Linked DNA regions of Homo sapiens: region 1 is linked to region 2. The links are contacts of gene promoters, found by promoter capture Hi-C in blood cells and fetal thymus (Javierre and others, 2016). All regions are on one chromosome and are shown on one strand. The core of a region is centred on a gene start or on the middle of the fragment in contact, and the rest is flanking DNA. Distances in the headings are between cores, read along the strand shown. Region 1 holds the start of KMT2A (lysine methyltransferase 2A). Region 2 holds the start of SIDT2 (SID1 transmembrane family member 2).

Region 1 (4,753 bases), core at 1,976-4,475, 1.3 Mb before region 2:
AAAAGTTTTAAAGACAAAAACCCCTTATAAATATGATCCTATTTGAAATAACTGCAATTCCTTGACAGGCTTTACATTATATACTAGTGTTAAGAAAAATAAAACAGTAGTTTACAATTATCTCATAATGCCAGTAGATAAGAAAACGTTTAGCCCCTGATTAAAACTTTAAAAGTGATTTGTCAAAGACCAACAGATAAAATATTCTGGTGCCCAGACATTAGGTCCCTGAATCCAGGTGGCTCTCTTTCTAACCAGTCTCTTGAAAAACTATGATTGGAAGCTGTCAGCATAAAACTTTGCTTTTGAATATGTGATAATATTTGGAATGTGAATGCTTAGTCCTTCTATACAAAATAAATAAGCATACTGAACAAGAAGAAAATGCTTCTTAGGATCCCCTTAAAATGGACTAACTTCTCCTAATAGAGACTTTCTTATTAAACTCAAATATACATGGGGCTAAAATGCTACATATAACCAGGCAAGTCTCAATTTTGAAAATAAGCAGGTAAATGAAATGTCAGTTTTTTCTTTTTTTTCTTTTTTTTTTTTTTTGCTGCTGTATCTTTTAAAAAAGCAAAATCAACTCACATTTAAGCACCAACTCCATGCAAGTAACCTGAACGGTTCAGTCTTTTTGTCATGTATGTGGCCTTTGGTTCTCCAACTACATGGGATCTGTGTTGTTAGCTTAAAAAATACAGAATTGGCCTTTCAAAAAAAAATAATAATCTACAGCAACCAATAAATAGTCTCAAACAACCCTGCTGACTGCAGCTGCCTTCTGAAGGCTGGGAAAAGGAGGTGGAGATAGAGCAGAAAGAGGCAGGGAAAGGGGACGCTGCAGCTAGCTACATAGCAAGGAACACGCCCCCATCATGTCCTCCTTGCTCTGTCAGAAGGCGGGTTGTTGTCAGTCTCCTGATCAGGCTGCCTTAGAAACGATTAAAAAAAAGGAGGCAGGAAGACTAACAACTAAAAAATGCCAGCTCCTTGAAAGGAGGGGCCAGGGTCCTTGGGATCTCCTCCCTCCCCTTCTTCCCAGGATCTTTCCGTAAATCTAAAGGGGTGCGGGGCACAATAGGGGACAAGGGGTTTGCCCAGGATATTTTGTGTGCACCAACGGCAGAGCACGCAGGAAACGGCTGGTTGTTATCTTTCCCTTTCTGTTTCAATCAAGAGCACTCCAGAGCAGCAACCCCCTACCCCCCTTCGCTTCAGCCCCTAGCAGCTGCTCTTCCTCCTCCTAGCATCCCCCATGCCATCCTCCCCCCTCTACAATTCGAACTCCCCCCTTCTGCATCCAATGGAAAACAAATGCGCAACGCCACTGGCTGAACCTGAACTCAACTTCCCTTCCTTGGGCAACTTTCCTTTTTGCTGAAGGGGGCCGAATAATGTTTATAGAAGCAACTCCGTTCTTGCCCCAGTACTAATGGGGAAGGGGCAACGCTCTGACCCTTCATCCACCTTGGGTCCCCTTACAAGAATCAGAGACAACCCCAAGTCCTTTCTAAGGAATAACTTTGCTTGATAATCCTTTTTCTCCCATCCCAAAGCAACCACCGCCACCACACTAAAGTATAACTGTCCCTTATCTACTCTCCTCACCCCAACCTGGCTTCCCCCACCCCTTCCAAGCCCCAGGATTGGCCTAGGAAAAGGTGGATCAATAATGAAATGACGAGAAGAGAAGGGCGGGAGGGAGCTCGGGTTGGAGACTGCGTGCTCTCAGGCGCAGTGGGTGGGGTAGGAGAGCAGCTGCTTCCCCTGGGAGGATGCTGCCTCAGTCCCCCAACAAACACCTCCCCTCACAGGGGCCCCCTTCCCCAGAGCTGGAGGGAAAGCCTGCCTCCTCTCCAAGGGGAGTGGTGGAAAGCTGCTCTTCTCTAAGCCTAGGGGACAGTGGACTATTTTCCCCTCCAAGATGCCACTAATCCTTCATTCTAAAGGAGGGAAAGGGTGGAGTGAAGGTAGAGTAATTCCCGGCTACCAATAGGCTAGAAACTGTAGCCCTGTAAGACGGGGCGGGGGGGGGAAGAGACTGCTGTATGAGGAATCACCGTTATCTTCAGAGGGAAAGGAGGTGAGACCAGGCAAGGTGCAGAGGAGAGATTTTCCCCGGTGGGGTAGGGCGGGATGGGGGAGGATCGGTCTGCTTGGGGTGGGGGTAGAGGGTGGAGGTGAAGGAAGGGGGAGTGGCTGGCAGTATAGGGACCTGGCCCGGGGATGGCGCGAGGGTTCATCGGGTTTTCGAAAGCAAGGTGCTGGAAGGGACACGATCCCCAAGGGCCAGGAGAACGTGGCCCTGGATGAGGCCATCACCCGAGAGACGCCCGAGAGGAAAACTGCCCTAGGAGTAACACATCTGCCCAGAGAGGGAGGCGGGGATGTGGCGGGATCAGGTCTCTAGGAGGGAGGGAGGGAGGAATCTTGCTCGGATGAGGTAATCTGTGAAAGGGAGGAGGGGTTCAGTCCCGGGATGGGAAACCCCGGCGAGGGGGTCTGTGCCAAGGGATTTGGGGAAGGGTCAGGGGGAGGAGAGCGGGGGGCAAACGCCCTCAGCCAGATGGGCCCAAACCCCGGGGTGGGGGCGCCTGGGGGTCTGCAGCCCTGCATGGGGGTCCCAAGATGGGAGAGCCATTCGCCCCGGGTCAGGGACCCCGAGATGGTCCCAGAATTGGGATGCTCCTCAATCCCGGATGGGGGAGGGGAGGGGGCTCCGCAGAGGGTCGAGACCCCGGACCTGGGGGTTCCTCGCCCCCTTACCTCTCCGCTGCCGCCTCCCCCGCCGCTCTCCCCAAACACGGCCCGGAACCGGCGCAGGTTGGTGCCGATGGCGGCCGAGACCTGCAGCGCCGCGTCGAAGCCCGGGCCCACCCGGAGCAGGGCCGGCCCTGAAGAGGCTGAGGACGATGACGAAGACGAAGACGAGGCGGACGACGAGGAGGCTGCTGAGGCGGCGGCCGCTCCCCCTGGAACCCCAGCCCCGCTGCTTCCCGCCGCCGCCGCCGCGGCCGCCACAGCCGGGGGGGAGGGGGGCGCCCCGGGGCCGCCACCGCCGACCGGGGGCCCGGGGGGAAGCAGCAGGGCCGGGACGCGTTGCCGCGGGGCGCCCCCTAGGCCCCGGCGCCCCCCGCCGCCGCCGCCCCCGGTGGTCCCGGGTCGGGCGGGGAAGCGCCACCGACAGCTGTGCGCCATGTTCGCCCCGTGAAGTGAAGCAGCGAGAGGGAGAGGCGACAACACAGGGGGGCGGGGAGGCGGAGGGGGGGGCACGGGGCCCCGGAACCTGCCTAACCAGCTCTGCGCCGCCCGGCCGCCTGCACCCTGCCGGCCGCTATGCAGAGCGCCGGGCCGCGCCCGCCAGCCCCGCAATCTGTATAGCGGCCTCGGGCCTCCGCCTCTGACGCCTGGGCGCTGCAACTCCATCCCGAGGCCCGGGCCGCCGCCTCCTGCCCGCCCGCCGGCCCCGCAACCTGGATAACTGCATGCCCCGCCCTCCGGGAGAGGCATTGCTCGGGAAAAGGAGGGGGGAAGGAAGCCCGGGAGCCCGGAGCAGAGCGCGGGTTCCGGAGAGAGGGGGAGGGGGCGAGGACTACGCGGAGGATGGAGGCGTAGGGAGCCGGGCCGCCTGCAGCCTTGAGCGCCGAGAGGCCGATTACACACGTTCCCGGGACGCGCTGGGAATCGAACAGCCCGGGAGAGCAGCTTCCAGTATAACGCGGCGGCTGGGTCGGGGAGCAGTGAGCCTTCTCCTCCGCCCCAGGGCACGGATACAAGATGGGTTAGCCCGAATTGAACGCTTCTAGAATAAAAGAGCCCTTATTGTACTACATGCAAAACAGAAGCGCTGCCCAGTTTACTATATGCAAAACAGAAAGGCCCTCAATGAACGCACTTTAAAAAATAAAAAAGGAGCCCCTCCCATTTTCATGCTGGAGCTCTTTCCAAAAAGCACACACCGAGTGGCAGGTCTCCTGCCACCTCCTCGCTCTACTGTGCACTCGTCTGGCTTTCGTGCCCTTCTGCAGGGAGTTGGGTTGTGTTTCTCCAGCCCGGGCACTGAGGCCACGGCGTGCTCCGCTAACGACGCGGTGTTACAACGAAGCTGAAGCTGGGTGGCTAACGGGGCCTGGAGGGAAGAGGCGGGCAAAAGCGCCCCCGCCCCTTCTTCCTCCGGTCTCTGCCTGCCGCTGCATGCAAAGCAGACCCTAATGTATGCACGCAGAGGGAGGGGGGCTCGCGAGCACGTTTCTGATTAAGAGAGGGGGAGGAGGAGAGCGTTGGGCATTATGATACACTGGGTGGAAGGGGCCCGCCGGCGGCGAGCTCTGTGCGCGGGGTTAGTAAGCTGAGGGGGGAGGGGGAAAGAAGGAGGCGAGTTAGGGAGGGGAATGAATATCCACCGGGTTTACTTTATTGCGGGAAAGAGGGGAGGGCGCCTCGAGCATAGCGTTAGACGCCTGCAAGGCTGGGAAAGCCGAGAGGGTAGGGAGGGGTTTGTGTCGGGAGAACTTGCGTTGGCTGAGGCTGGGGGATCGATACACAGCCTGCAGGCCCCGGGGCAGCCTCCATCCCCCAAGCCGAGGGGGAGTTCGCTGGAAGGTCATGCAGCCTTCCTGGACTCCCGCACCGGTACAGCGCACTGCATGTAATATTACAGCCTGGGGCGGCGAATTTGGGAAGGAGGGAGAGGGTCGTTGTGAGCAGGTTGCACTCAGCTCTGGCCCTCCGGAGGGTGCACTTCACG
Region 2 (4,676 bases), core at 2,110-4,609:
GGCTGTGCTGCTGTGGTATTGAAGCTGAACTGCTCCCCAGTCCTGCAGGGCAGAGAAGAGCCCCCACCAGTCACCCCCGGAGCCTGGGGAAGAACCAGCCCCCGTGGTCCCCTCACTCTACCCTGCAGACCTGAGCACAAAATCGTCCATGCGGCTGACCCGGAGCTGGTATGTGGTGTTGACTGGTGACAGGGTGGACACATCCACGTAGAAGAACTGAATCTCCGACTCATTCTTGGTGGGGGGCTGACACAGGGTTCGTTCCACTTTTTGGTAGAGGTACTTGCGCTGAAACCTATGGCCCGAAGCAGGGAGATAGGATGTGAGCACTGTCCCAGCCGGCCTGCCCCTCCAGAGGAGCGAGGCCCCACCTCGCCCCGTCTGGTCTCCACCACCTCCCTGCGAGGTGCACAAGCTCCCGGCTGGTGGGACTCGGCCCTTGTGCTGTTGACCAGCCTCCCAGCCCAGGGAAAGGGGAGGAGAAATGGGGGGGCTCCTGGTTGAGGCTCCAGCCAAGGACTGGCCTAGGCTGCCCCGCTTCCCTGATGCCCAGATCCTACTCACATCCCTCGCAGGATTAGGGGCACCTGGAAGGACACCACAGCCTCCTTCTGGCGGACCACAAACAGCAACGGCGCCCCCTTCTGCTTGTTCAGGACGTTCACAGACACACGCACGCCCTCTGTCTGCAGAACGACATGGAAATGCCTCTCAAGCCTCTGCCACCAGGGACACGTGGCTCCAGAGACTATGAGCCCTGCCCTCCTTCATGCCAGCTACTTTGGTCTTTCTCCATCTTGGTCGGGCCAGGGAGTCATCTCTGCCTCTTCTTCTGCCAGAACAACCCCCAGACTCCAGGAAAGACCTGTGCTGAGTGCAGCTCCTGGCCGGCAGACATGTGCAGGGCAGCAGGACCCAAGCAACCGCAGGGTCTCACCCTCTGCCAGGAAACACGGTGGAGGCCTTGCGAGTCTCCAGGATACCCCATTCCTATCCATGTGCACAGGATGCACAGGCCTGCACACACAAACGTGTACACACGCCCCCACACACGAAGACACAGGAGAACAAGAAGTGCTCCTCAACCTTCCTGTGAGCCAGGAAGCCAGCAGGAAGCTCTAGTTAACAGCTAACCTGGGGCCAGAGCCCAGAGGAGTTGAGGAGGGGTAGGTATTGAAGGCCATGTTGTATCCTTAGCTCCCACCAAGGGACAGGGCTGTGGAGAAGTCACTTTACTTCTCTAAGCCTCAACTTCTCCCTCTATAAAATGACAGCCGGGTGCGGTGACTCACGCTTGTAGCACTTTGGGAGGCCAAGGCAGGAGGATCATCTGAGGTCAGGAGTTTGAGACCAGCCTGGCCAACATGGTGAAGCCCCATCTCTACTAAAAATACAAAAATTAGCTGGGTATGGTGGCAGGCGCCTGTAATCTCAACTACTTGGGAGGCTGAGGCAGGAGAATCGCTTGAACCGGGAAGGCGGAGGTTGCAGTGAGCTGAGATCACAAAACTGCACTTCAGCCTGGGCAACAGAGTGAGACTGGTCTCAAAAAAAAAAAAAAAAAAAAAAAGATAAAGTGATCTTCACCCTTGGAGCTATGAAGGAACATATATAAACAATGGGAGCTTAAAGGAAAAATAAAACCAAATCGATCTTGGAATGCTTGTTATTGGGCTGCTGAAACCCAAGCCCTAGGGCAGCATTTCCCAAAAGAGTAAAAACCACAGCTCTCCAGTGCCTTTAGATATGGGAAAAAAGGAAGAAAGGACTCTAAGCAGAAAGAGATCAAACTTCAGAGAACCAGGCACTGGGGGCAGATCCTGGCCTGCCACAGAAACCAAACCACTCCCCGTTCTGAAAAAAAATCAGATTCCCCATTCTCAACTCCATTGCTTCTCAGTAAACGGCAGTCATGGAGAGAGAGCAAGAGACCCGGGCACGAGACCACACAGCCAGGTTGCAAGAATTCTCCCAATCTCAGCTCTGCCTGGGGTCTAGACTTCCCACACTAGCTGTGTCTATTTCAACTCAGGGACTCACAGCTGGTGAAGAAACCAAAGAGAAGTCAGGGTGAAGTGGATTTTTCACAGTGGACAAATTCCCCTTCTCTTCCCACCCAACTTGCAGTTGGCCTTATAAAACCTCTGTCACCCTCAATTTACAAGGCCAGCTGGCTCTCCCAGGCAGGAAGAGGGCTGGGAAGCCCTGCATTCATCTCCCTGGGGAGTCTGAGATGTAACTTGCCTGCACAGAGCTTTTCAGTTCTGGGCCAGTCTCATTCCCCTGAGGTTTTCTGGGCAAGCCCAGTAATAAGCCTGTTTCCTCTCCCACCGAGACCCCACAGAGCTGTCAGATTCTGGGGTTTAGGGTAGAGAGCAAGCCATGTGTGCTCAGACCACAACTGATGGAAGAATGGGGGCGGAAGAGAAGATGGGAATGAGCCAACTTCAAAAACTGCCCAGCTGGAGCTTCAGAGAAACATTGGTGGCAAAGGAAGGAGGACTGGTCAAGAGGCTCCAGTGTGGTTCTGGGAACTGGGAACCTAGCAGGACAGCTCGTTCCTGGGGCCTCCCAAAAGGGTAGCGGGGCGGCAGAATCGCCTAGCCCTCGTCGGCTTCCCCACTCGCCTCTGGCCCCTAAGCCCCCAGCCCTCACCCTGTTGCGGGTCACAGTATGGTTGAAGGTGTAGATGTTGACCAGCTCGCTGTTGACCTCGTCCACGTAGGTGCGCTCAAACTCGGCGTCTTTCTGCGAGACGTTCTTGGGCCCCAGAACCCCCAGATGGCTCTCGACCGAGGCCACCAAGAGCACCAAGAAGGGCAAGCCCAGAGCGAACATGGCCCCGGCAGGGCGGCAGTGGCAGCGGTGGTGGCGGCGGCGGCGGCGACAGGAGACAGGACACCTCCGGGACGGGTTGCGGCTGCGGCCGCAGCTTCCAGCATCTCACCAGGACCAGAACTTTAACCCCGGCCTGAGATTAGGAAATGTCCCCTCCCAAGAGCCCCGAAGAGGCTCCCAGGGTCCCCGCAGGGGAGGGGGCGGCCGGGAGGGGGCGGGGAGGGAGGGGATGCTGGCTACGGGAAGGGGTCCCAGCTCGCGAGGGGCTGAGTACGACCTGAGACCCTGGAGCCCCGGGCCAGGGCCGTGAGAAGGAGGGCGGCTGGTTGCCGGGAGCCTGGAGACGCCGGGAAAGGGGAGGGAGGAAGAGCCGGCGGCGGGGGCTGGCCGCGGAGGAAGGCGAGTCGCAGAGTGAGGGGCGTGATAGGTGGTAGCTACCCGACGCCGTGCTGGGCTGCGAGTTTTCCGAGGTGCGGGCCCTTTAAGGGCGGGCGGACGCGCCGTCCCGACGCACGAACACTGAAAAGTGAGCTGCGCCGCTGGGCGATAAACAGCAGGGCTGCTGGCCCGCCCGCTGACGTCAGGGGAAACTGACACAGATTTAAAGGACCAGGTCCCGCATTTGCCCTTAAAGGGGCTGCAGCTGTCTAGCTGAAGGGGAAAGCTTGCAATGCCTTCTCCAACTCCTACCCAACTCTCTCCCGTGATTTTCACCATCTCTGAAACTCACGTTGGAATAGGCAGATGTTTCTGTTAACAATCTCCAAGTGTTGGGTTCTTGCTGAACAACTCTTACATTTGCTCAAACATAAGGATTCCCCCACCCCCACCACCACCTTTACAACTAACATCGTCCAACCCTGGGCCACTTTTTCTCCGGGGATCTTAAAAAATGAAAAACTCGAAGGATTAGGAAACAGGACGGTGGCCCTACCGGCGGAGGGGAAACGGAGGCAGCACTGCAGGAGGAATCCCCATGCCTTTCCCACCTCCCTCTAGAGGGGCCACACAACTGCAGGGACGGCCTTCCGAGCTTTCCAAGCTTGCCGGGCTGTTTCCCCTCTTCTCTCAGAGACAGTTACAAAACTCATTGAAAGATACTGACCTTCAGTGTAAATTGGTGAAAACTTTTCTACAAAATATTTTGGCACTGTTTCAAGAAACTTAGAGAGCTTTATACCCTTTGATCCAGTAATTCCACTTCTGGACTCTATCCTAAGGAAATAGGAAGCACAGATAAAAATACCTGGGCAGCTACGCTTATCACTGTGATATTTATAATATAAAGCAAAAAGGAAATGACTTGGATATCCATAATGAGGGATTGGTTAAATGCACTATCATGAAGGCATCAAAAATGATGCTTAAGACTTCACAGGACACGTAAGCAGAGAATTCAGGATATGACACTAAATAAACAGTATATAGAGCCAGGTGCCGTGGCTCACACGTGTAATCCCAACACTTTGGGAGGCCAAGACAGGTAGATCACTTGAGGTCAGGAGTTCGAGACCAGCCATGGCCAACATGGTGAACCCCATCTCTACTATAAAAATACAAAATTAGTGGGGCGTGGTGACGCGTGCCTGTAATCCCAGCTACTGGGGAGGCTGAAGCAGGAGAATCGCTTAACTCTACCAGGCGGAGGTTGCAGTGAGCTGAGATCATGCTCCTGCACTCCAGCCTGGGCTGCAACAGAGCAAGACTCTGTCTCAAAAATAAATAAGTAAATAAAACCGTATATATTCCAAATGCATATAGACATGCATAGAAAAATAGAAAAAAATTGTACTAAACATTTAGCAATGTCTCCAGAAAGCAGGGCAAATTTTAAAAAT

Evidence for each region. The method cuts DNA at HindIII sites, captures the fragments that hold promoters and counts their contacts. A CHiCAGO score of 5 or more calls a contact.
Region 1: the fragment with the promoter of KMT2A here is called in contact with the fragment with the promoter of SIDT2 in region 2 in 1 of 17 cell types (monocytes); the score reaches 6.9 in monocytes.

The regions. Positions count from the first base shown.
Region 1 is chr11:118,434,964-118,439,716 of GRCh38, reverse strand. It overlaps KMT2A (lysine methyltransferase 2A), which reads right to left and starts at 3,225. Exons shown (of 36, transcript NM_001197104.2): 1 at 2,773-3,225. The coding sequence starts at 3,204. RefSeq lists enhancers at 1,259-2,256, 2,257-3,255, 3,917-4,056, 3,256-4,253 and a silencer at 3,127-3,606. The HindIII fragment of the contact is 8,732 bases long and covers 1-4,753 here.
Region 2 is chr11:117,177,426-117,182,101 of GRCh38, reverse strand. It overlaps SIDT2 (SID1 transmembrane family member 2), which reads right to left and starts at 3,359. Exons shown (of 26, transcript NM_001040455.2): 1 at 2,656-3,359; 2 at 565-686; 3 at 131-295; 4 at 1-42. The coding sequence starts at 2,838. It also overlaps a transcript of PAFAH1B2 not described here. RefSeq lists silencers at 384-443, 3,051-3,260 and enhancers at 1-677, 914-973, 2,001-2,070. The HindIII fragment of the contact is 6,932 bases long and covers 1-3,504 here.